4 separate regions of the Homo sapiens genome follow, and all the other regions are linked to region 4. Evidence: promoter capture Hi-C in 16 types of primary human blood cells and fetal thymus (Javierre and others, 2016). All regions are on one chromosome and are shown on one strand. The core of a region is centred on a gene start or on the middle of the fragment in contact, and the rest is flanking DNA. Distances in the headings are between cores, read along the strand shown.

Region 1 (7,058 bases), core at 1,785-4,284, 520 kb after region 4:
GCAGGGTTGTGTGTACACTCTGACTGCAACAACCTAAAAACTGCATGGCCTCAAGCTCTGCTGATGGACATTTAAAATTTCTCCTCTATTATTACTTTTTAAAAAGGCCTTAACTTTATGTCATGTATGGGTATCTCTGGGTTTGGGGTTTTTGGCTTGTTGTTTTCGTTTTTTCAGTCTTTTCCTTCCGTCAATCAACCGCCTTAAAAATGTGTCTTCTTTGTACCAGGCCCTCCCCGAGGTGCTGGTGATTCAAAGGTCAATCACCCACAACTCTTTCTCTGGGATGTCAGGGCAGAAGAGGAAACAGATACAAAAATAAACAGTTTCAAAAATATATGGGCCAGTCTTTATGGGCCCACTTGTGGACGTACGCAGGCACGGTCACCCCCTGGCGGCCACTCGACTACCAGCTCTTGGGTGGCTCTAACCTCTGGACAGCGGCTTCCACTCTCGGTGGCCAGCCCCAGCCTCGTTCTCCGAGAGAGTCCAAGACTCCTCCCTCTCCCTCCTTCTGGGGCCCTCCATCCCCTAGTAGGCGTCTCAGCCTGGGCCTGGCCCAGACAAATCCGACCCTGTTACTCTCACCGGAGCTCCTCCCTCCCCGAAAGCCTCACTCCGGCTGTGAGCTGCAAGATTACGTCATTGTCAATGGTTCGCATGCGCCCTCACCACTGGACAATTGGCGCACCCCTGCCGCAGGCGGGCGTAGCTTCGGGCTCCGGGGTTCTCCCTTTTCCTTTCCTGATGTTTTTTTTAAAGTGGCGACACACTACTTGTAAGAGACGCTGGTAAACTCGTGGCTTTAGGAGGAAATGGGAGCCAAGAAAAGCTGCAAAGCTCAAGGCTCACGACCGCTTGCTCGCCATTGTCCCACTCACTTCCGAAAGAGATAACGCCCCTTTCCGACTCTTTTGGCCTCCCCGCTCCAAGAGTGAGAATCGAAGCCCCGCCCCGTGAGCGTCTAGTCCCAAGATAACCCAGCTGCGCTTGCGAGTGCAAGTACACTGGGGCGGGGCTGACAGGAGGCTGATGCAATCGAGTCGGGCGGGCGGGGCACGTCGGATGAAAGTGGGTACCGGAAGAAAAGGGGTTATTTCAGCAGGCTTAGTAACCCTATTCAAAGTAAGACCTTAATATATAAGTAAAAGTTCGTGCCTGATTTGGAGAGCTCTTTGACTATTAAATTTTTTTTAATGTAACGCCTGTAATCCCAGCACTTTGGGAGGCCAAGGTGGGTGGATCACTTGAGTCCATGAGTTTGAGACCAGCATGGGCAACACAGTGAGACCCTCCCTCTCTATTTTATTTTAAAAAACATTATTTTAAAGGTATATATCCTATTGGCTCAGCAATCCCATTTCCATATATATACATCCAAGACTCCTAGAGAAGTGTATGCGGATCACCTACAGGGCTTTGTTAAAACACAGATTGTTGTGGCCCATCTACTATCAGAGATTAGGAACTTGTGTTTCTAACAACTTCCAGGGTAATGCTGGGGCAAACTGGTTCAAGACCACACTTTAAGAACCTTAGATCTAGAGGACAAAAAACTGCAAGGAGCCTTATGAACAAGTGTAAGCCGTGCTGATTTGTTGGCAATAACGAAAAATTGAAAGTATCAGTGGGGGCAGGAGATGGTTGATAAACTTATCAGTTTAAAATGGGCTATATATAGGCCGGGCATGGTGGCTGACGGCTGTAATGCCAATACTTTGAGAGGCCGAGGTGGGTGGATCACCTGAGGTCAGAAGTTCGAGACCAGCATGGTGAAACCCCGTCTCTACTAAAAATACAAAAATTAGCCAGGCGCCTGTAATCCCAGCTACTCAGAAGGCTGAAGCAGGAGAAACGCTTGAACCCGGGAGGCGGAGGTTGCAGTGGGCCGGAGATTGCGCCACTGCACTCCAGCCTGGGCAACAGAGCCAGACTATCTCAATTAATTAATTAATTAATTTAATGAGCTATATATAAACTGACATGGAAAGATATCGAAGGTGATGATGATAGTAGTGAGGGTGGTGATGATGATACTTAATGTTTATTGAGCACTTACACTGTATCAGGCACTGTGTGAAGGATTTTACATTTCTTACCTCATTTTCTACAGCAATTCTCAGGAATGTGGACTGTGTCTAATTCGCTGTATATTTTTAGTCCAGAACAGGGTCTGGCACCCAGGATCTTGTCAGTAAATGTTTGTGGCCTCATGTGATCAGATCCAGTCCCACAAGTTCACAGTCCCAAGAGTTTAGGACTTCACAGCCCAAACAATATTTCAAAAAATTGCAAAGGATGGATAAAATATTGCGGAAGAAGGACACTAAAAACAAACTACTGCCTTCTATCACCATCATTTTAAGAAAAGACAATTACACATAATCCCCCATTAAAGGAACGAACTTTTTAATTTATCTTTAATATGAAAATTTTTAACATATGCAAAAGTAGAAAGAAGAGTAAATGAACCCCCAAGTACCTCTCACCCAGCTTCTCAATTATCACCTCCTGGCCAAGCATCTTACATCTCAAACCCCAACACACATCGTATCCCAGATTACTTTGAAGCAAATGCTAGACGCCATTTTCTCCATAAATATTTGAGTTCATGTGTTTAAAATATAAGAACTCTTTTATAATAATAACCATAATACCACAGAATATCTAAAAATTTAAGAATAATTTCCTAATATTATAAAATATCCAAGTATTTACATTTCCCTGATTTATACATATCTTTTGCAGTTTTGCACAAATTAGCAAGTAAATAAGATAAAGCAGAGGCCTTTAAATCAAATATACACTACAGTGTCCTTTTTATCTTCATTTTACTGCAGATTGGCAAAAACTATATCAGGCCCTTGCACAAGATGACAGACCAGTATTGGGAACTACTGGCATAACATTCATTCAAAAGTAGATAGTGAGATATATATGTGTGTGTGTGTGCATGCACATGTGTGCACACATGTGTGTATATGTGTGTATACATACAAACTGCAAAATATATATGTGTGTATACACACACACAGCCTGACACTTCTAGCGGTACACAAGGGTAAATAAGACAGATGCAGTCCCTGTACTCCTGGAGCCAACATTCTACTGAGAGAAACAGACAATTACCAAGTCAAGAAATACATTTGGAATTTAATTTCGGGGTCATAATATGTACAATGAAAAAAATAAAGAAGGAAGATAAGGCAGTAGAAAATGATGGAGGCAGTAGTACATTGGCAAAATGGTGAAGTAGGCAGCTCCAAGCTCTTGTTCCCCTACAGAAACTGATAATCAAGCAGAAACTGACAGAACCAACTTTCTCAAAACTCTGGAAAACAATGAAAAGTTTATAGCAACCAAGCAAATGCTGAATAAAGAAAAAGGCAATAACAGATGCCAGTGAGGTTGCAGAGAAAAGGGAACACTTATACACTTATGGTGGAAATGTAAATTAGTTCAGCCACTGTGGAAAGCAGTGTGATTTCTCAAAGAACTTAAAACAGAGCTACCATTTGACTGAGCAATCCCATTACTGGAAGTCTCATATACCCAAAGGAAAATAAACCATTCTACTAAAAAGACACATGCATGTGTATGTTCATCACAGTGCTATTCACAATAGCAAAGATACAGAATCAACCTAGATGCCCATCAACAGTGGATTGGATAAAGAAAATGTGATACATATATACTGTGGAATACTGTGCAGCCATAAAAAAGAATGAAATCATGTCTTTTGCAGCAATATGAATGCAGCTTGAGGTCATCATCCTAAGCAAATTAACACAGGAACAGGGAACCAAATACCACATCTCACTTATAAGTGGGAGCTAAACATTGAGTACACATGGACATAAAAATGGGAACAATAGACACTGGGGACTACTAGAGGTGGGAGGGGGAGGGGGCCAGGGTTGAAAAACTACCTATTGTATACTATGCTCACTACCTGGGTGATGGGATCATTTGTACACCAAACTTCAGTGACATGCAACTTACCCATGTAACAAATTTGCATATGTACTCTCTGAACCTAAAATAAAAGTTGAAAAAAAGAAAGATAAAGGCAACTTCAAAATGGTAAGAAAGTTTTATGGCATATTTACTTGCTCTTGCCCCACCTCCTCTCCAGTGCAGTCATGGTCTTGAATAGGAAAGTCCACATTCTCCTGCGGGAAACTTGTTCCTGATCCTGGAGGAAACAGAGCAGACCTTATTTGCATATTGTTGTGTATGTATGTTCTAACCTGCCTTGGGGCTAAAAGACTGACATAAAGTATTCATCTGTGTTTCACTTCACTCAGAACTGAGGCTATAAAATGGCAAGCTCAAAATCAATGCAAGAAAAAATGAGCAATATGCAGATCTCAGGGGAAAAGATTATGATCAAAACAAAACAGACCACCTAAGGACTGAGAGCAAGAGCTGGGGAGAGTTTATTTGAGAAATTCGGACATTCAAAAGAAGCCACATATATGGGGAGATTTAGAAAGCCATGTGCATGCTCCACACAAGACACATCCTCAGAAAAACAACATGTGAAAACTCTAATGTTTCACCACTGGCTGAGTCCTATGCTTAGTGCAAGCCTAGTTAGGTGTTGAAAAAAAATGCCCTAGAACAAAATGATTCTGCAAGGATGAGGTGGGGGAGGTAATTTTTGTTTGTTTGATTGATTTTTTTTTTTTTTTTAGTTCCTGACATTCAAGGAAATCCTATCAAAACACTAGCTGAGCACAAACTGAAAAACAGAAATATCAATGACTACACACACAAAAAAACGGTCTTCCTAAAAGTACTTTGGGAAAGTCACTAAACAAATGGACTACTATAGCCTTCACATAAATTAAATAAACAGCGAACTCAGAGGAAAAAGGAGAATTTAATGTACCCCCTTAACATTTTATGATATTCAAACATATAGCTTTCAACAAAAAATATCACAAAACATACAAAGAAATAGGAAATTATGGCCCATTTACAGAAACAAACTAAATTGACAGAAACTATTCCTGAGGAAGTCCAGACATCAAATTTAATAGACAAACACTTTAAAACAATTGACTTAAATATGCTCACAGAACTAAAGGAAAACATGAACAAATAACTAAAGGAAATTAGGAATATGACGTATGAGCAAAATTAGAATATCAATTTAAAAGACAGAGCATAAAAAGGAACCAAACAGAAATTTTGGAGCTGAAAAGTACAATGATTGAAATGAAAAATTGACTAGAGGTATTGAACAGCAGATCTAAGATGGCACAATAAAGAATCAGTGAACTTAAGGATAGGATAATCGAAATTATCAAGTCTGAGGAGAAAAGAAAGAATTGGCCAGGCACAGTGGCTCATGCTTGTAATCCCAGCACTTTGGGAGGCCGAGATGGGTGGATCACTTGATGTCAGGAGTTCAAGACCAGCCTGGCCAACACGGCAAAACCCTGTCTCTACTAAAAATACAAAAATTAGCTTGGCATGGTGGCGGGCACCTGTAATCCCAGCTACTCAGGAGGCTGAGGCAGGAGAATCGCTTGAACCCCCAGGAGGCAGAGGTTGTAGTGAGCCGAGATCATGCCACTGCACTCCAGCCTGCGTGACAGAGCGAGACTCCATCTCAAAAAAAAAAAAAAAAAAAAGAGCCGGGCGCAGTGGTTCACACCTGTAATCCCAGCACTTTGGGAGGCTAAGGCAGGCAGATCACAAGGTCAGGAGATCGAGGTCATCCTGGGTAACATGGTGAAACCCCGTGTCTACTAAAAATACAAAAAAAAAAAAAAATTAGCCAGGCTTGGTGGCATGCACCTGTACTCCCAGCTACTTGGGAGGCTGAGGCAGGAGACTCGCTTGAACCCAGGAGGTGGAGGTTGCAATGAGCCGAGATCACGCCACTGCGCTCCAGCCTGGTGACAGAGCAAGACTCCGTCTCAAAAAAACAAAAACAAAAAAAAATACAAATTAGCCGGGCGTGATGGCACATGCCTGTAATCCCAGCTACTTGGGAGGCTGAGGCAAGACAATCATTTGAACCCGGGAGATGGAGGTGGCAGGGAGCCGAGATAGCGCCATTGCACTCCAGCCCAGGTAACAAGAGTGAAACTCCATCTCAAAAAAAAGGAAAGGAAAAAGAATAAAAGTGAACAGAGCTTAAGGGACCCATAGGACACCATAAGCTAACCCACATACATATTATTTGAGTCTAAGAAAGAGAAGAGAGAACAAAATAATATTTGAAGAAATAATGGCCAAGGATTTCCCAAATGTGAAGGAAAATAAGAATCTACAAATCCAAGAAGCTATATGAACTCCAAGCAGCATACTCTCAAAGAGGCACACACTGAGACACATTAGAGTCAAACTGTTAAAACACAAAGACAAAGAGAATCTTGAAAGCAGTGAAAGAAGTGACTCATTACATACGATCCTTGATACAACTGACAGTTGATTTCGCACCAGAAATCATGAAGGCCAAAACACACTAAGATGACATACTTTAAATGCTGAAACTGTTAGCCAAGAATTATCTATCCAGCTGCAGAAGGCAGGAAGGAGTGAGGCCTGAAAGCCCTGCTTGCTTTCTCAGCTGGAAGCTTTGCAGCCAGAGGCAAGATCTCAGCCCTGCATACCAGAGGCCTGGATACAAATTCAGCTCTGTTGGCTGTTGGAGGAGCATGGCGGGACTGAGACTGGCCTTGCTGGCTGTGTGGGAACTGAGTGAGGCCTGTCACTGCTGGCTTTTCCCCCACTTCCCTGGCAACCTGTATGAAGGAGCAGAGGTAGCCATAATCCCCCCTTGGAACATAACTCCATTGGCCTGAGAACCACCCCTGCCATCCCTCTCTTTGGCCGCAGCAAGTCCCCCTGAAAGACAATCTGAGCTCAGACTTGCCTAACCCTGCCCCCACCTGATGGTCTTTCTCTACAAGCCCTGGTGGCTGAAGACAAAAGACATAAAACTCATGGGTGCTCTATGGCCCTGCCCATCACCTGAGAAACCTGAATACTTATCCAGGTGACCTTAAGGCAAGCTTGTATCTCCCTATACTACCACAGCT
Region 2 (6,207 bases), core at 156-2,655, 630 kb after region 4:
TGGAAGGTGGACTGTGACAACTTTCATCTTTTATGCTGGTTGAAGTCAGCGGCACACTAACACTGAAAGAAATAGGGGCTCTGGTTCTCTGCATGGGTGGTGTGTGGAGGGGGCTGGCAATGCAGCTATAAATTAATAGATCAGCCCTAATACTTGGGGGTGGGGGCGTCTGTGATTCTACCCTGGGTGGAGAGAAACAGATCTGAGCTCCACTACCTTGGGTAAAGGGGAGAGACCATACGCACTGAACTGCCAGGTAATCAGCGATGTCACTCCCTCTCAACATTACAGGGAGGGAGACCTGCATATCTGCTCCTGTGGGGTATCTCCCTTGCTACATTTAGTGATTCTAAATCTTTGGGGGAGGTAGGGGGAGGTAGGGGGATGATCTGTGTCTACCTCAAAGGGAGAGGAACACATCTGAGCCCCTCTACCCCCACGGCCCCTCAAGGGGCAGACCTGACTGTCTCTTCATGGATTAAGGTCTGTTCCTGTTTGCTTCGAAGCATGTTGGGTGCTTCGAAAAATTACACATTCGGTAAAACGGGGGCTACGGAAGTAGGGATCAGGTCTGATTCTCCACAATGGGGACTCACTCTAACCTAAGAGGAGGGGGCAATTGGCTTAGTTGTCCATAAGCTGAGGCCTGTAACTGCAACCACTTTGGGGACGGGTGAGTTGGGGAGCGATACTGAGGGCTCTGAGTCTACGCGTATGGGGAGGAGGTGCCCTCCCTCTGTATATTAAATGTTTCTAAGCTCCTCTATGCTGGTATGGGGGCAGATACATCAAAGCCTCTGTCTGTCCTGAGGAGGTGCCTCGAGACGGCTGTCTAGAGCCAAGCCAAGGAAGTGCCTTAAGTCGGGAGAAGTCTGCGCTGCTCAGCTGGGTGGAGGGAGATGTCTCTACACGGTTGGGGTGGATGTCCCCCATGCCTTTGGTGGGTCGACTCCTGTCTATACAAGGTGAATGCAGAATGAAGCCTCACTATCTTGAGGACGATCAACGCTTCACCACACAAGTGAAGTTTGTGCCTCTCTACACAGTGTGTCCCGGGTCTACACCTTTCTAGGTGGGATGGGGCAATGCCCCTCTCCCGGCAAACTCCACTCCGCGAAAAGGCAATTCGGCGCGTCTCCACGTGTGCCGCGATCCCTGCCCCTCTTCCGGTCCCTTCTACCCTGGAAGGGATCCTGCTGTTTACCTCTCTATTCCAGGTTGGCGGGCATCTCTGGTTTCACATCCAATAGACGATCCTAACTGCCCGGCCGTCTAGGTGAGCGCACATTGTGAGAAAAGAGGAGAGAAGTTTCTTACTTACACTTCCGGCGGGGATCTGAGAAGCGAGGGCAACACGACAACTCGGTTGAGCGAGCAGAAACTCTCGCGCAGCTAGGCTCCGACTTCCGGATCCCAGGCCGGCGGCGCCCGACTCCGCCCACCGTGCGGTCTCCGCGGGGGGGGGGGGGGGGGGGCGGAGCTTCTGACTGACAGCTCACGCCCGCCCGTCCCTTCTTCGCGACCACGCTGGCCCCGCCTCCTGCCTGCCCCGTAGTTAAGGAAATAGCGGAGGAGGGAGAAGGAGGACGGGGAAATGACCGGGAAGAAGCGGCGGGTCGACTGGTGCGGCCATATACCTTACTTGCAAGCCAAAATTTTGTCTGCGGGCATCTGTCTGGGGTTAAATATGCGTGCTCCCAAATCTCAATAACCAGGCAGTCACCACGCCCGAATCAGACAAGGGTGGGGGATGGTGTCTTTGTCTGCCTGGAAGATGGCGACAGCAGGGTGTGAGAAAATGGCCGCCTGGGTCACGTGTCTGGCCGAGTATTTCCCCACCTGAAGTGAATTGGTTAGCTATTCCCAACCACCTTCCCGGGTCCTTGAGCCCCAGACCATCCCTGAGCACTCCTAGCTTTTTCTGCATACGTTCAGATCTATGGCCATACCCAACCCGAGCTGGAGCAGGAGCCAGAACGACTAGAAGCCTCTCCCACACTAGAAGCCTCTCCCACCCTTTTGCCTTCTTCCCCTCCTACTCCATCCTTCCCTCAATCCCGGAGCAGCGTCTGCAGAAGGGAATGAATTTATATCTCTGGAGTGGGGCAAGTAGGGGTTTCTGAAGCCATCTCAAGGAGCTGGCTGGGAAGTGAGGTCTCCCCCACAAAATAGTAAATATTAGTCTGCAAATGTTTTCTTCTTGATGGTTTAATTCCAGCCCCTCCTCTTCCTCAAGCCTAAACCCTGGGGTGGGGCACAGAGTAGGTGGAACTCTGTGCCTCCGAGGGTGGGTTTGTTTCTCCACTTCAAGCACAGACGGGCTGAAAATGACTCCATCTGTCCCTTTATCCCTTACATAAACAGGACTCACTACCTCTCTACATCGTTGGAGGGCTTCTAACCTCTCATCCTAGAGACACATGAAATTCCTCTGGACCTGAAACCAGCCCTGACCACTTTCACCTTTCCCCCTGCATTTGCAATTTTGCTCTGTTTCTCTAAGACCTAACTCTTGTCACTTCGATGAAACCTTCTCTGACTTTCGCAGATGAGTTAGAAACCCAGAGCACCTTACCTATACAGCTAAGCTAGCACTTATCACAATACTGTAGTTGTTTATGTGACTGTGTCTCCACAGGAGGGTGAACTCCCTGAGAGCAGGGGCCATGTATCTTCAAGCTTTCAACAACACCCAGCACAAGACTGGTATGAGGCAGGCTTCAACAACTGTTTGTTAAATGGGTGAGTTTACAGGCCTGCACCACAAAAAATGGGAAATGGGCTGTTTAGTAGATGGCATTGGGAAATTTGGCTCTCCATGAAAAGAAATATAAAACTGGATCTCTATTTATTCCACCTAAGAGGGTAGACTGTGAATGTGAAAGGTAAAACTATGAAGTTAATATATGCAGGAGAATATCTTTGTGACTTGTGACTGGGGAAGGACTTTTTAAACAAAATCCCAAATGCACAAGATATAAGGGAAAAAATACAATGAAATCTTGTGGAAACTAGTTATTACGACTTTGGAAAACAATTAGGAAGTATCCAGAATAGCTGAAGATGACCCTGGGACCCAGCAGTTCTAGTATTGGAGATGATTGATTAATAGGTAGATAGATAGATAGAGATCACCTCTAAACTTTAACTCCTAGAGAAATTCTTATACACTTGCTCAATGAGCATGTGGAAGAATGTTCATTGCAGAACTGTTTGTAATAGAGAAAAAAATGTGAACAGCCCAAAATTCCACCAACAGGAGAATGAATAAGTAAATTATGGTATAGCCATATGACAGAATACTATGCAGAATACTATAATGAAAAAGAATGAATCATGTTGCATGCATTGACCCAGCTAAATTTCAAAAACACAATACTGAGATAAAATACAAATTGCAGAGGACACATAAAGTATGAAACCATTTATATAAAGTTTTAAAATCTAGAAAACAGCAAACAATGTTGCTTATAGATTATATAGATATATAAACAATAATTTTTTTTTCAGACAAGATGTTGCTCTGTCGTCCAGGCTGCAGTGCAGTGGCTTGATTTCCTCTCCCTGCAGCCTCCACCTCCCTGACTCAAGCCATCCTCCCACCTCAGCCTCCCAAGTACCTGGACTACAGGCATGTACCACCACACCTGGCTAATTTTTGTATTTTTTGTAGAGACAGGGTTTCACCATGTTGCCCAGGCTAATCTTGAGTTCCTGAGCTCAAGTGATCCAACCACATCTTGGCCTCCCAAGGTGCTGGGATTCCAGGTGTGAGCCACCGCCCCCAGCCAACAATAATTTTTAAGGAGAAATACCAAATCCAGAATACTGATTACCTCTGGGGAAGAAAACAAAAGAACAGAATGAGAGAGAGATACACAGGGAACTTCAACTGTTTGTCTAATATTTTACTTTCTAAGCTAGGTGGTAGGTACGTGGGTTTTTGTTATCTTCTCTATACTTATTTGTATGTCCGAAATATTTCATATTTTTTAAAAGACTACAAGGATCTGAAACAAAATGTTAATAATAGTTAAATCTAGATTAGTGGTTCTCTAACTTTCCCCAGCATCAGAATCACTGGGAGGGCTTGTTAGAACACCAATTACTGGGCCTCATGCCCAGAGTTTTGATTCAGTAAGTCTGGTTTAGGGCCCAGGATTTGCATTTCTAACAAATCAAAGTGACATTATCAGTGAATTTAATTTTCTTCCTTGTACTTTTCTGTGTTTTCCATGTATTTGATGAATATTTATTACTTTAGTGAGAGATTGTGTTATTTTTTAAAATCTCTTTCATCTCTACTTCCCACTTTCATTTCCCTCCTATAGGCAGCCATTCAAAGGTGTTTTATGCATATTTTTGCATATATGCATTCTTGGAAAATACGTATTATTGCTTTATGTGTATTTCCTCCTTTTTTTTTTTTTTTTTTTTTGAGCCAGGGTCTTGCTCTATCGCCCAGACTGGAGTGCAGTGGCATGACCTCCACTCACTGCAACCTCCACCTCCTGGGCTCAAGGGATCCTCCCACCTCACCCTCCCGAGTAGCTGGGGAACTACAGGCGCACATCACCATGCCCAGCTAATTTTTAAAGATGTTTTTACTGGTCTCGGCTGGGCACTGTGGCTCACACCTGTAATCCCAGCACTTTGGGAGGCCAAGGCAGGCGGATCACCTGAGGTCAGGAGTTCGAGACCAGCCTGGCCAACATGGTGAAACCCTGTCTCTACCAAAAAGAAAAATACAAAAAATTAGCTGGGTGTGGTGGCAGGCGCCTTAATCCCAGCTACTTGGGAGGCAGAGGCAGGAGAATCGTTTGAACCCGGGAGGCGGAGGTTGCAGTGAGCCAAGATCAAGCCATTGCACTCAAACCTGGGGGACAAGCACGAGACTTCTCTCAAAAAAAAAAAAAAAAGATTTTTTTACTGGTCTCAAACTCGGGGCTCCAGCAATCTGCTTGCCTCGGCCTCCTAAAGTGATGGGATTGTGGGTGACTGCACCCGGCCAAATTTTTATTTTATATTGTTTCCAAATTCAGAACAGTCGAAAGAATGGTATAATGAAAGCCCATATACCCTTATACTTCACCAAATATCATCCTACATAACCACAATACCATTATCAAACCTAAGAAGATTTAACTATAATTCAATAATGCCATCACGTATAGCCCATATTCACATTTCCGCCCAATTATCCCCAAAAATGCAGCTTTCGTTTTTTGATCCCAGGATCTAATCAAGGTTTATGTACTACGTTTCTTTTTTTTTTTTTTTTTTTTTTTTTTTTTGAGACGAAGTCTTGCTCTGTTGCCCAGGCTCGAGTGCAGTGGCGCAATCTTGGCTCACTGCAACCTCTACCTCCTGGGTTCAAGTAATTCTCCTGCCTCCACCTCCCAAGTAGCTGGGACTACAGGCGCCCGCCACCATGCCTGTCTAATTTTTGTATTTTAAGTAGAGACAGCGTTTCTGCACATTGGAGTGATCCATCCACCTTGGCCTCCCAAAGTGCAGGGATTACAGTCATGAGCCACCACACCTGACGTTTGTGTATTACATTTGGTTGTTATATCCCTTTAACCTCTTTTAATCTAGAATAATACCCCTATATTTTTTGTTTCAAATGACATTTATGTTTTTGAAGAGTCCAGGCCAATTGTCTTGTAATATGTCCCATATTCTGGATTCATTTGTTCTTTTCACATGAATAGATTCAGAATAAATATTTTTAGCAAGAACAGTACATAGGGGATATCCTTTATTTTGTATTGTGTCACCTCAAGAGGCACATGATATCAGATTGTCTCACTATTGAGCATACTTTGTACTTGTTTTTCTTTTACATAAATATCTCATTCTGGCCAGGTGCGGTGGCTCATGCCTGTAATCCCAGCACTTTGGGAGGCCGAAGCAGGCGGATTGCTTGAGGCCAGGAGTTCAAGACCAGCCTGGCCAACATGGCGAAACCCTGTCTCTACTAAAAATGCAAAAATTAGCCAGGTGTGGTGGCGCACACCTCTAATCCCAGCTACTGGGGAGGCTGAGGCACGAGAATCGCTTGAACCTGGGAGGCAGAGGTTGCAGTGAGCTGAGATCACACCACTGCACTCCAGCCTGGGTGATGGAGTAAGACTCTGTCTTAAAAAAAAAAAAAAAAAAAAGTCATTCTGTTTTCCATTCAGCCTAGTGTTTTTAAGGTCTATC
Region 3 (6,446 bases), core at 246-2,745, 720 kb after region 4:
GAAGCTTCTTCACTGAACATCTAACAGAACTAGTTAGCATGAATTTTGGCAAACACTGGCCTAAATGATAAAATCAAAGGCACATAAGGGCTTCCATGTCTTATGCTTTTCAAGGGGGCTTCCCACACCCCAGCTTCATTCTCTACCACTCCTCCACCCCCCACGCACACACGCCCATACTCCAATACTGAGCTCCCTGCTACTTTCCAAATATAACACATTATACCCTCATGCCACAGAACTTGAGTGTTGCTCTCTCTGCTTCCCCCACCTAGTTAACTCCTTCTCACTAAGACCCAGCCCAATTCACCACCTCCACTAAGAAGCTGTCTCCCCATCCTGTTACCCCATGCACCCTGAGCTCCTCTTTATCAGAAAATCTATCAATGTTGTAACTATTTACGTGTGTGGATCCTCAATGGATAGTATACTTTCTTGAGAGAGATGACTCTGCCTAATGTCATCTCCAAAGCTAGAAATTGAATGAAGATTTTTTTAAAAACCATACTATGCAACAGGCCCTCTACTGGGCCTCTTGTTCTTGTATATCCCTCAAGACGAGCCTACAGTGTAGATCTTTGCTGTCCAAACAGCCACAGGTGGTTACTGAGCACTTGAAATATGGCTAGGCCAAATCGAAATGTGCTAAAACTGTAAAATACCAGATTTTGAAAACTTAATACTAAAAAATGTAAAATATCTCAATGTTTTATACTGACTACATGTTGAAATATTTCATACACACCGAGTTTACTAACATTGATTTCATCTGCTTTTTGCTTTATTAAAGTGGCTACTAAAAAATTTTAAATTATATGTGACTAGCATAATATTTCTACTGTACAGCGCTCTGGTGGATACTTTTATACGCATTTTAGAAACTAGGAAACTGAGTCTCAGGGAGGTAAACTGCCTTGTCCAGAGTAATCCCACGAGTCAGTGGTACAGCCCGTAAAGCACTGGAATCCAGGATTCTGATTCTAAAAGCTGAATTCATTCCACCTCACCTTTAGGTACCAATCCACAACTGCTCGAGAGGAAATGCAGGCTCTGCGGGATGGGGCTCCTCCTCTCCACACCCCCACACAGGCGGGTCGCGGCGCCTCACATTCACTCACCATTGCGCATGAAGTAATCCTCCACTGCACCCCCCAGCCACTTGGCCTTCTCCTGGCTGTGCACACCCCCGAAGCCATTCTCCACAGCGATCTGTAAACACAGGTCCAAGCCCACCAAGTCAGCTTGGGAGCAGACCTGGAGTAGCCTGGAGGCCGCTTACGCCGCCCAGCCAACTCCTCTTATGCCGCCTAGCCAAGCCTCAGGCACCTAGCCCAACCAACTCCTGTTCTGCCCCGGGCCCTAACCTTGACCTTGCCCTGGCCCTGGCCCCACTGACCTGCAAGGCCGGCCAGGCCTCCAGGGCCGCGCAGACCCCAGCCCGGAAAAGAGCTCGCGCATCTTCTGCAGCGCCCGCCATTATCCGGCCCCAGTCCACGTGACGTCCCGGCGGCCCAATCCCTCTGTAGCTCGGCCCAGGCAGAACGAGACGCAAGCCGAGCCTGAGAACACAGGATTCTCTTTTCCGCAGACCTGGCAGCAAGACTAGAGCAAAAGAAAAATCTGTCAGAGCGATCGATGACACCACCAGAGTTACTCACTTAAATCAAAGGACACCAGACCTGAAGGACGTGTGGGGCCATGGTTTCCGGATCCGTGGGTACTGCGGAGGAAATATGTGGGGAACTTATTACAGATACAGATTCCAGGCCCTGGGGCAGAGGACTCAGTGAGTATAGCCTTAAAAATCTGCATTTAAAAAAAGCATCCTAACATCTGTATAGAATACTGCAACCAACAACAGTAAAATACAATCAGCTCTCCCTATGGGGGGCAGTCCACGTCCGTGAATTCAACTAACCTCAGATGGAAAATATTCAGGAAAAAATTGCATCTGCATTGAACATGTGTATACTTTTTTTCTTGACATTATTCTCCTAAACAGTACAGTATAACAGCTATATACATAGCATTTACACTTTATTAGGCATTATAAGTAACCTGGAAATTATTTATTTATCTATTTTTTTGAGACCGAGTGTCACTCTGTGGCCCAGGCTGGAGTGCAGTGGCGCCATCTCGGCTGACTGCAACCTCCGTCTCCTGGTTTCAAGCAATTCTCGTGCCTCAGCCTCCCGAGTACCTGAGATTACAGGTGCCCACCACCACTCCCAGCTAATTTTTGTGTTTTTAGTAGAGACAGGGTTTCGCCATGTTGCCCAGGCTGGTCTCGAACTCCTGGGTTTAATCCACTTGCCTCAGCCTCCCAAATTGCTGGGATTATAGGCGTGAGTCACATCTGGAAATGATTTAAAGTATACAGTAGAATATTCATAGGTTATACGCAAATACTATGCCATTTTATATCAGGGACTTGAGCATCTATGAATTTTGGTATCCTCCGGAGGTCGTGGAACCAGTCTCCCACGGATACCCAGGGATAACTGTACATGTTTTTCTGAAGTACACAAGAACATTCTCCAGAACAGATCATACACTAGGCCATACAGTAGGCCTCCATAGATTTAACAGGATTGAACATACAAAGTATGTTGTCTGACCACAATGGAAAGAAGTTAAAAATCAGTAAAAAGAAACTTACAAAATTCACAAATATATGGAAATTAACACACTCCTAAGCAATAAATGGGTCAAAGAAAAAAATCACAAAGCAAATTAGAAAACACTTTTAAATGAATGAAAACAAAAACATAAAAAAATGCATGAGATGCAGCTAAAGCAAAACTTAGAGGGAAATCTTTAGCTGTAAACATGCATATCTAAAAAGAAGAGCCGGACATGGTGGCTCATGCCTGTAATCATAGCACTTTGGGAGGTTGATGCGGGAGGATGGCTTGAGCTCAGGAGTTCAAGACCAGCCTGGGCAACATAGTGAGACCCCATCTCTAAAAACAATTTTAAAAATTAGGCCAGGTGTGGTGGCTCACGCTTGTAATCACAGCACTTTGGGAGGCCAAGGCAGGCAGATCACTTGAGGTCAGGAGTTCGAGACCAGCCTGGCCAAGATGGTGAAACCCCGTCTCTACTAAAAATACAAAAATTAGCCAGGTCTGGTGGCAAGCACCTGTAATCCCAGCTACTTGGGAGGCTGAGGCAGGAGAATGGCTTGAACCCGGGAGGCGGAGGTTACAGTGAGCCGAGATGGTGCCATTGCACTCCAGCCTGGGAAACAGAGTGAGACTCTGTCTCAAACTAAATAAATAAATAAATTTGAAAACTAGGCCAGGCATGGTGGCTCACACCTATAATTCCCGCACTTTGGGTGGGCAGATCACCTGAGGTCAGGAGTTTGAGACCAGCATGGTCAATATGAACAAACCCTGTCTCTACTAAAAATGCAAAAGTTAGCCAGGCATGGTGACACACACCTGTAATCCCAGCTACTTGGGAGGCTGAAGCACGAGAATCGCTTGAACCCGGTAGGCAGAGGTTGCAGTGAGCTGAGATCACTCCACTGCACTCCAGCCTGGGCGACACAGTGAGACTCTGTCTCAAACAAACAAACGAACAAACAAAATTAGATGGGCATAGTGGCATATGCGTGTAGTACCAGCCACTCAGGAGGCTGAGGTGGGAGGATTGCTTGAGCCTGGGAGCTCAAGGCTGCAGTGAGCCGTGATTGTGCCACTGCACTCCAGCATGGGGGACAGAGCAAGACCCTGTCTCAAAAAAATAAAAAATGAAAGAATGATATCAAATTAATAACCTACACTTCCACTTCACAAAACCAGAAAAAGAAGAGCAAAGTAATCCCAAGGCAAGCATAAGAAAGGAAATAATAAATAATAGAACAGAAATAAATGAAATAGAGAATTGAAAAACAATAGAGAAAAGAAAAAACAGTGAAGCCAAAAGTCAGTTGTTGTTTTTTGTTTGTTTGTTTGTTTGTTTTGAGATGGAGTCTGGTGCTGTCACCCAGGCTGAAGTGCAGTGGTGCAATCTCAGCTCACTACAACCTCTGCCTCCCAGGTTCAAAGGAGTCTCCTGCCTCAGCCTCCAGAGTAGCTGGGATTACAGGCATATGCCACCATGCCCCGTTAATTTTTGTATTTTTAGTAGAGACAGGGTTTCACCATGTTGGCCAGGCTGGTCTTGAACTCCTGACCTCAAGTGAGCTGCCCACCTCAGCCTTCCCAAGTGTTTGGATTACAGGCGTGAGCCACCGGACCTGGGCGGTTATTTTTTTTTCAGAGATGAAGTCTTTTTTTGTTGCCCAGGCTGGAATGCAGTGGCACAAACATTGCTCACTGCAGCCTCAAACTCCTGGGCTCAAAGGATCCTCCTGCCTCTGCCTCCTGATTAGCTGGGACTACAGGAATAGGCCACCATGCCTGGCTAGTGTGTGTGTGTGTGTGTGTGTGTGGTTGTGTGTGTGTGTGTGTGTGTGTGTGTGTGTGTGTGTGTGTGTGTTGGGAGGGGGTGTCTCACTTTGTTGCCCAGGCTGGTCTTGAACTCCTGGTTTCAAGCGATCCACCTGCCTCGCCTCTCAAAATGCTGGGATTACAGGTGTGAGCAAATGCAACTGGCCAAGTCAGTTATTTGAAAAGATCAACAAAATTTACAAACCCTTAGCTAGACTGAGGAAGAAATAAAAGAAAGAAGACTCAAATTACTGAAATCAGGAACGAAAGAGGACGTATAATTACCGACCAGTCAAAAAAGACCACATATTGTATGATACCATTTATATGAAATATACAGAATAGGTAAATCTATAGAGACAGAAAATACATGAATGGTTGCCCAGGGCTTGGATGGGGAAAGAATAGAGTGTGACTTCTAAATGGCTTCAGGGCTACTTTTGGGGGTGTCGAAAATGTTCTAAAAATTAGACGAGGTAATGGTTGCTGTTATGAGCTAAATTGTATCCACCACCCCCCAAATTCATATGTAGAAACCCTAACCCCCAGTACCTCAGAATGTGACTGTATTGGGAGATAGAGCCTTTAAAAAGGTAATTAAGATAAAATGAGGTTGCATGGGTGGGCCCTAATCCGTTATGACTGATGTCCTTATAAAGAAGGGGAGATTAGAACTCGGTGCAATGGCTCAGATCACTTGAGGCCAGGAGTTCGAGACCATCCTGGGCAACAAAGCAAGACCCCCCATCTCTACAAAAAAATTTTTTTTTTAATTAGCTGAGTGTGATGGCTGTAGTCCCAGCTACTCAGGAGACTGAGGAGGGAGGATCACTTGAGTCCAGGAGGTTGAGGCTGCCGTGAGCCATGATTGTACCACTGCACTCCAGCATGAGTGACAGAACAAGCCCTGTCTCAAAAACAAAAAACAACAAAATATAATAATAAGAGGAGATGAGGACACAGGCAAAGAGGGACACCAGAGAGGTGTACACACAGGGACAACTATGTGAACACACAGTGAGAAAGCTAAGGAGAAAGCCAAGGAGCAAATCAGAAGAAACTATACTAAAAGCCATTGAATTGTACACTTTACTTATTTGTTGATTTATTGATGAAAGTATTTCCTTAAAATTAGAAATCTAATTTACAAATTACAAATTTTTAAAAACTGACAAATGTCACAAACATCTTCTAACCCAGAAAAATAAAATATTACTTTGTTGTTTTGTTTTTGTTTTGTAGATGCAAGGTTTCACCATGTTGGCCAGGCTGGTCTCAAACTCCTGACCTCAGGTGAGCCGCCTGCCTCAGCATCCCAAAGTGCTGGGATTACAGGCATGAGCCACCACGCCCTGCCAAAATAAAATATTCTTATTAATTACATGACTCACCTCTCTACTAATTTTTCTACATTTTTTGATATCAAAGAGTTTATAGAACTCTTCATATGACAAGTATTTTATATTTTCTAGAGAGAACACAAAGAATTCAATTGATTTCAATTCAGTTGAGTAAAATTTTTTATTATTAGTATTTTAGAAAAGTTTCAATTTCACAACTCATTATTAGTAATGTACATTTTAAGATTTTTGTCAAACTTGGGAAAATTTCTAGTTTCTTTTACATGTGAGCTGTAAGATTTCAGGTTATTTTAACTTCTCTTGGCACAGCGACAAATCTTAAACATTCTTCAAATAGACCAGGCTCAATAACCAGAGACCTGGAAGTGGCCTGTGCAAGTGTGGGGCCCTGATGCTTAAGATTGATTTGTTCTACGATAAATCTATCTCTGTGCAATGCCCAGGGAGAAAGGAGCACAGGGACTCATGGGAGTTCAGCAGAGGGTCCCTGACCCAGCCCTGGGGGCTGTGGCAGGCCTCTCGGAGGAGATGACACGTGAGCTGATTCTTAAAGTTTGAGTAGAATTTTGCTGGGTGATGGGGGAGTGTGTGTGTATGGGGGTGGAAGGTGTTACTGAAAGGAGGAAAGAGCCTTCTGTGCAGGGGA
Region 4 (6,379 bases), core at 3,114-5,613:
GGAGGGAGGGAGGGAGGGAAAGAGGAAGGAAGGAGGAGAAGAAAACAGAGAAAAATAGGGCTGAACAAATGTGTCTGTCTCTACCCAAACAGCTCTTGATGAGAAGGCACTTTGAGCAACTTGAGTGAGAAGTAACATAAATCAGAGGATGTATTAGTCTGTTCTCATGATGCTGATAAAGACAAACCTGAGACTGGGAAATTTACAAAAAAGAAAAAAAACAAAAAGAGGTTTAATGGAGAACTCACAGTTCCACATGGCTGGGGAGGCCTCACAATCATGGTGGAAGGCAAGGAGGAGCAAGTCACGTCTTACACGGATGGCAACAGACAAAGGGAGGGAGGTTGTACAGGGAAACTCCCCCTTATAGAACCATCAGATCTTGTGAGACCCACTCTCTATCGTGAGAACAGCATGGGAAAGACCTGCCCCCATGATTCAATCACCTCCCACCGAGTCCCTTCCACAGGGTGGGGACACCACCAAACCATATCAGAAGATCTCAATCATCTCCATTTACAGCCTTTCAAAAGTTATTCTGGCTGTTGTTTCTGAGCAATTCAAAACTTCCCTGGGGCCCAATGAATCCATGTATTCTCCTGAAGGGCATCTTTTACCTGGATTAACAGCACAGCTGAGAACCAACACAGACCGGTTAGTTTAGGAAGAAAAAGAAAAGAAAAATACAGTAGACCAACATTTCCCTCCCCCATGATATTGTTCTCTTTTCACTTTTTCCATTCAATGTAGAGAAGGATATTTGAATCCCAAAATTTCTAAGCTGAGAGACCTCTGAAACATTATCCTATACAGCCATTTTCAAAATATTTTTAGCAACAGAACACTTTTGTGAAATGAAATTTCATCTAAAAGCCTACTGCAGAAAATGGGGTGATAAAGTAATATTTTTCATATAAATGTATCACTTTAGTTTCAAGTTATCTTTCTATAAAGGCTGTCAGTAAATTTGATTGAGGTTCTTTTGAGGAACCTAACAAATTATTCTGTGGATTTCTGCATAACACTTCAGTTCCATATTAACTTCTACATCTGATTTTTTGGTGTTTTTACTGTTACCGTTTCACGGCTGCAAGAAGATCTTGATTTTCACAATATATTTATCGCTAATCTGTATCTTGGGAAAAAGAGAACCTCACTTTAAAAATAAACAAGTTACAAGTAAAGGATGGAAGAAGATATACCCTGCAAACATGAACCACATAAAAACTCAAGGTGTCAAATTAATACCTCACAAAGCACTCTTTATAGTGGAGATTATTACAAGGGACAAAATCGGACATTACATAATAATCATGAGATCTGGTCATTTAAAAGTGTGTGGCGCCTCCCTCCCCTCCTCCAACTCTCTCTCTCTCTTGCTCCTGCTTTTGCCACGTGAAGTGCTTGCTCCTGCTTCACCTTTTACCATGAGCAAAAGCTTCCTGAGGCCTCCCCAGAAGCTGTTACCAGAAAGGGGTCCCGATCCAGATCCCAAGAGAGGGTTCCTGGATCTCGCCCAAGAAAGAATTCAAGGTGAGTCCACAGTGCAAAGCAAAAGCAAATTTATTAAGAAAGTAAAGTGGTGAAAGTACAGCTACTCTACAGACAGAGTAGGATATTCCCAAAAGTAAGAAAAGGAATGCATCCACCCTAGGTACAATACTCGTTTATATACAGGATAAAAAAGATTATGGGGAGATGTGCTCTGCTACAAGGGTTTGTGATAAAGGATTAATTTTCTTAATTACTATATCTTGCAAGAATTGATATTATGATCTTTAAAGCAAAATTAGGAATGCTTCTGTTCTCAAGATATTGGGATATCACGACACTCCTAAGTCTGGGTCTGTTCAGTAAAAACATCTAGAGGCTAGAAATACCTAATTTTCTGAGAATGCAGCCAAGCAAATCCCAGCCTCCTTTTTCCTAGATTTTTCCTATTTTTTCAAGATAGAATTGCTCTGGTTCGAACGCCTCTGACAAATCCGGCGCCATGCTTTCTGTACAGCCTGCAGAACCATGAGCTAATTCAAACCTCTTTTCTTTATAAATTACCCAGACTCCAGGTATTTCTTTACAGCAATGCAAGATGGCCTAATACATGGTCTGCATTGCTTAGGAGTCTCATGTTGATTGCAGTGTCCTCAGTGGTTTCTGAAGGAAGGCTAACTTATCTCCCAAATCCTGCTGGTGATGCTGATTTGCTCACGTATGTCTGTGGCTGGTGTAACTTGCATTTTTGTCTCTCTCATCTTGGTCAGAATCTGGTACTCCCTGGCTGACTCAGCCTCAGCCCATGTGTGCTAGCTTCTGCAGACCCCTCTGAATCTGGGCTTCATCCTCCCTTCAGCCCCTGGCCAGGGTTGTCCACTCCACAGCCTCAGCTGCAAGGTAACCTAGTCCTTATCTGGCTTAAGCTTGCCCCATGGTAGCACCCCTGGCTCTTGAATCAGCCACTTTCCATACCCTCCAACCCCTCCACCTTCCTCAGAGAATGCAGCCCCTTGGGGTCTCACCTACAACACAGCAATAACCAAGATCAGCTCTTGAAAGCAAAATCCCTCATTTCTAACCATCTATTTGCCCACTTTGTAGACGATAGCATGATCCGATAGACATGGAGAACATGGTGATTCAAGTAAAAGGAATGATCATTACAAAAGCTTGTTCCTTGAGAATGTGGAAGGGCATGGGATCCAAGTGAAGGGTGTTAAGGAAAAAAAATTATTCATGGCATTTGTTAAAGAACGGTAAGGCAGACTTCATTCAGGACCATCAAGATAGGTGTAGGGACCACTGCTATGGGGTTTTGCAGTGAAGGGAGAGAAACTGGGTTCCACTCCAAATACAACAACGAAAAGTGGAAATTTATAGCCAAGGAGCAGGGTGGGGAGCAATGGACGGAAAATTACTAAGAGGAAACACCACGGGTAAGGGGGTATTGTGGCTAAATTGAACTAACAGGATTGTTGGTGAAGGTGGGCCAGGGTGACTAGACATCACCTGGGGGATGAGGAACCTAACTGAGATATTGATGATGGGAAATTCTAACTAAACTGACTTAGCAGGATTCTTGTTAAAATTGCACAATGCAGCGACAAACATGGCAGTCTAAAAGTCCCCTGTCCAGGGCTGTCTACTCCACAGCCTCGGCTGCAGGGTCACCTAGCCCCTAGCTGGGTTAGGCTTCCTTTATGGCATGATCTTTAGTTCTTGAATCAGCCACTTTCCACATCTTCCCTTCCATCCTCAGGGAATGCAGCCCCCTGTGAGATCACCTACTTAACAGCAAGAACCAGGATCAGCCTAAACTCTAGCACTCCCTTTGCCAACTTTTTAGATAATAAATACAGATAGAGGAACATGATAATTCAGGAGAAAGCATAACTGCAAAGGATGATCCCTTAAGAAGGTGGAAGGCATAGGATCCAGGTGAAGGGCCTGGTCTCAAGTAGGATCCTGTCTCTTCCTCCAGGGAAGCAGCCAAGATTATAAGTGCAGGTCTACTGCTGTTGGGAAGTGGTGTGAATTCTTCTCTGATTGCTTCTATTTTCTCAAGGGAATATCAGTGAATATCATGAGAAAATTGGGTGCTGGTGCTTGTGGAGGGATCTTGTAAGTAGACTAGACAGAGAAGGTACACTTGTGGAGGGTGTACATTGTTTGTCTACTTGGCGGCGGGGGGACTGCCAGGAGAGTAGGGAGGAGAGAGTTAATAGCTTTGGGTAAGCTGGCTAAGGAAGGTGAATGGTGAGGAACGCGGTTGTGGTTAGTGGAGAGGAGGCCTCCTTGAGGCTAAAGGCTGTGGATGCTGGGGCACTGGAAGAGGTAGCTGTTAGGACACGATCGGGTGCTGCCCGTTATGAGAATGGGGGATGCAAGAAATGGACATCGTGGAGGGGCGCGGTCTTTCCTGAGGCCCAGGGCATGACCGCGGGCAGAAGAGACTTAAGTGGGGGGAAGGAGACCCCCCCGAGGACGGAGAGGCGCCGGCCACGGCCTGGTCAGCCCCGGGGGCGCTGAGGTCGCCGAGGAGGATCAGCGGTGTGAGGGCTGCGAGGACAGGGCGTGTGCCACGTGAGAAGCGTGTTCAGAGGCTGGCTGGGTGGGAGGAGAATGTCCATGGGATTGGCACAGGTCTCGAACATGGGGCGGCTCGGGCAGTCGCGCAGCAGAGCCTGACCCTCAGCGGATCGTCCCTCAGGCGTCAGCTCCCAACTGCAGGGAAGGGAGCCTGCGGCGGACCCAGAGGAAACAGGAGCCGACCTCCCCGGGCTCCGATGCGCAGGCCCAGAGCCCGTCAATCCTTGGCCAGCCCCGCCCTCCGGGCTGCGTTTTTCCGGCGGCGCAGGAACTTCCTGCGCGGTTGCTATGGTTCCGAGGGCAGGACTATGGGAGGCTGCCCTGTACGGTAAGTTCGTCGGGGCCTTTCCGGCCGGTACCAGTCCGAGCTCTGGTCCCCACGGTCATCACGCTTTGCTTTCTCAGCCAAGATCTCGGGGCTCAGGGCGGAAACGCAGCGGATATGTATTTTCTTCCGGGGTTGGTGGCGCTCGGCTCTCATGACCTGCAGGTGACAGTGTTGGCCGGTGGCGCGGCCCTGCTTGCCTCGTGCCCCGCCCTTCGTGCTTGAAAAAAAATCCCGCGAAGCCTTCTCCGAAAGAACATGCTGGTTCTTTGGTTGTCAGTGCCTTACAAGCCCTGGAGGCGGGGGTGAGGTGGGGATGTGGTCCCTCGCGAAAACTCAGTCAGTGGACAATAGCATTCTGTTTTTCAAATTGGCATTTCCTCGGTGAGGCTGCTAGGTACCCTAGCAACTGGTATTTCTGTTTCTCTGATTGGTTTTGTCATCTTTCTCCACGTGTTACTGGGGTTCTATGGACCTTTATCAATGTATTCTTTCATTACAAACGTCTCTGAATCTCATGGTAGAAAACTTGGTTAGACTGTTAAAGCGTAATAAAGGAAACCAATCTTATCCACAGTCCGATCACCCAGCCGTGACCATTAATCATATTCTGTGATAAATTTCCTTAGATGTTTTTCATTCGTAAAGTTGCATTTTAAAAAATGAGATTAACATTGTTTCATGAACATTCCGCTTTTTAAACTCAGCTTCACACTTTGAAAAATCATTTTCATAGTATTACTCTGTTTTAAAAACAATGCAAACGTATTGTAAGCTGTTGAAAGTTTCAGTAAAACTTGAGCGCAAAATACTCAAATACTCAAAATACCATGATCAAAGACAAACATCACCATGCTCCCTAATGAAGGCAGAGCTGTGGCATGTGTTTGTTTCACTCTTTTATCCTGGCACCTGGAGGAGTGCCTAGCACTTAGTGGATGCTCAATAAACATTGTGAAATAAAATAATATTTACACCCGGTCATTTTTTCTTTATATATAATCAATCATTTCATAATGGAGTGTAATATAGGAGCAGTTTTCTACGTGATTTTTTATTTGGCATTTTGTACTCAGTACTCAGTCTCCTAGAGTCTCCTAGTACTCAGTCTCCTAGAGATGAGAATTGATTAAAGAGTAATGAAATTATAAAAATGAGTAAACTCAGCCATTCTTAGGAGTACCAAAAACTCAAAAGTAAGTCTCTAAGCAAATGTCTGGTTAATAATAGAGTGCTGTGAAAACTATGTCAAACGCTGCAATCTGATTACTTATTGACAAGGAACTTGAAACTGAAGATGTAATCTTACCAATCATTGAAAACAATTTTGAGAAAAGAATGTTTCAAGGAAGTAATCAGCCACAATCTCATGGTGACAATCTAGTGGAGTAACTATGTCATAATATTAGCTGGTATAGCAACAGTAAGTGCCTAACCACATTCAGCATACAAGAAATATCTCTTCAGTGTCGCTACACCACTGGCATAAGAACTTAAGAGTAGACACTGGCAGACACACATGTCTTACGATCTTATTGAAGGAGTTAAAAATCACTTACCCTGGAATTGTAACTTCATGGAGTCAAAACAATGAAACTAATTAGGTAGATTTTGAAAACTTAGCTATTAAATTCCTCATATTCTTTATTTTCAAGGATCATTTAAGGTTATGAAAATTATTTCTAGAAATGAAATGCACAGCTTGGCTTTACTTAGAGTTCTTGTATTACATTTTTTTATCTTCATGCCTGGTAATGGAGTACTTATATGACTTTTATATCTTGGGATAGCAGATAGTGACATTTTTTCAGACAAGTTCTCATATATGTATGTTGTCACGGCTTTACAATTTAAGCATCCAAAAGATCAGTTGTTTCATGTAACAACTCTCTCTTTACAATTTATTTTCAGGAAAAGAAGAAGAAATGGCAGTAAAGAGGGCAACCATCATTCCACCCAGCCCAAAAGGAA

The links. The method cuts DNA at HindIII sites, captures the fragments that hold promoters and counts their contacts. A CHiCAGO score of 5 or more calls a contact.
Region 1: a contact is called between a fragment that was not itself captured here and the fragment with the promoter of VCF2 in region 4, in 1 of 17 cell types (monocytes). The highest score is 5.4, in monocytes.
Region 2: a contact is called between the fragment with the promoter of GNL3L here and the fragment with the promoter of VCF2 in region 4, in 12 of 17 cell types (monocytes, total B cells, activated CD4 T cells and 9 more). The highest score is 20.5, in monocytes.
Region 3: the fragment with the promoter of TSR2 here is called in contact with the fragment with the promoter of VCF2 in region 4 in 7 of 17 cell types (monocytes, naive CD8 T cells, fetal thymus and 4 more); the score reaches 8.0 in monocytes.

What each region holds. Positions count from the first base shown.
Region 1 is chrX:54,633,372-54,640,429 of GRCh38, reverse strand. It overlaps a transcript of GNL3L not described here. Among named protein-coding and RNA genes, the nearest start is that of GNL3L, 110 kb to the right of the region's middle. RefSeq lists enhancers at 486-735, 1,026-1,155, 722-1,247. The HindIII fragment of the contact is 7,123 bases long and covers 1-6,595 here.
Region 2 is chrX:54,525,417-54,531,623 of GRCh38, reverse strand. GNL3L (G protein nucleolar 3 like) reads right to left here and starts at 1,405. Exons shown (of 16, transcript NM_001184819.2): 1 at 1,205-1,405. RefSeq lists enhancers at 1,000-1,259, 1,270-1,329, 1,780-1,829, 1,484-2,004. The HindIII fragment of the contact is 4,164 bases long and covers 1-2,681 here.
Region 3 is chrX:54,435,453-54,441,898 of GRCh38, reverse strand. It overlaps TSR2 (TSR2 ribosome maturation factor), which reads right to left and starts at 1,495. Exons shown (of 5, transcript NM_058163.3): 1 at 1,397-1,495; 2 at 1,119-1,209. The coding sequence starts at 1,477. RefSeq lists an enhancer at 1,728-1,777. The HindIII fragment of the contact is 25,574 bases long and covers 7-6,446 here.
Region 4 is chrX:55,159,169-55,165,547 of GRCh38, reverse strand. It overlaps VCF2 (VCP nuclear cofactor family member 2), which reads left to right and starts at 4,363. Exons shown (of 3, transcript NM_001166701.4): 1 at 4,363-4,411; 2 at 6,320-6,379. The coding sequence starts at 4,392. RefSeq lists enhancers at 3,574-4,074, 4,075-4,575, 4,401-4,700. The HindIII fragment of the contact is 5,872 bases long and covers 2,666-6,379 here.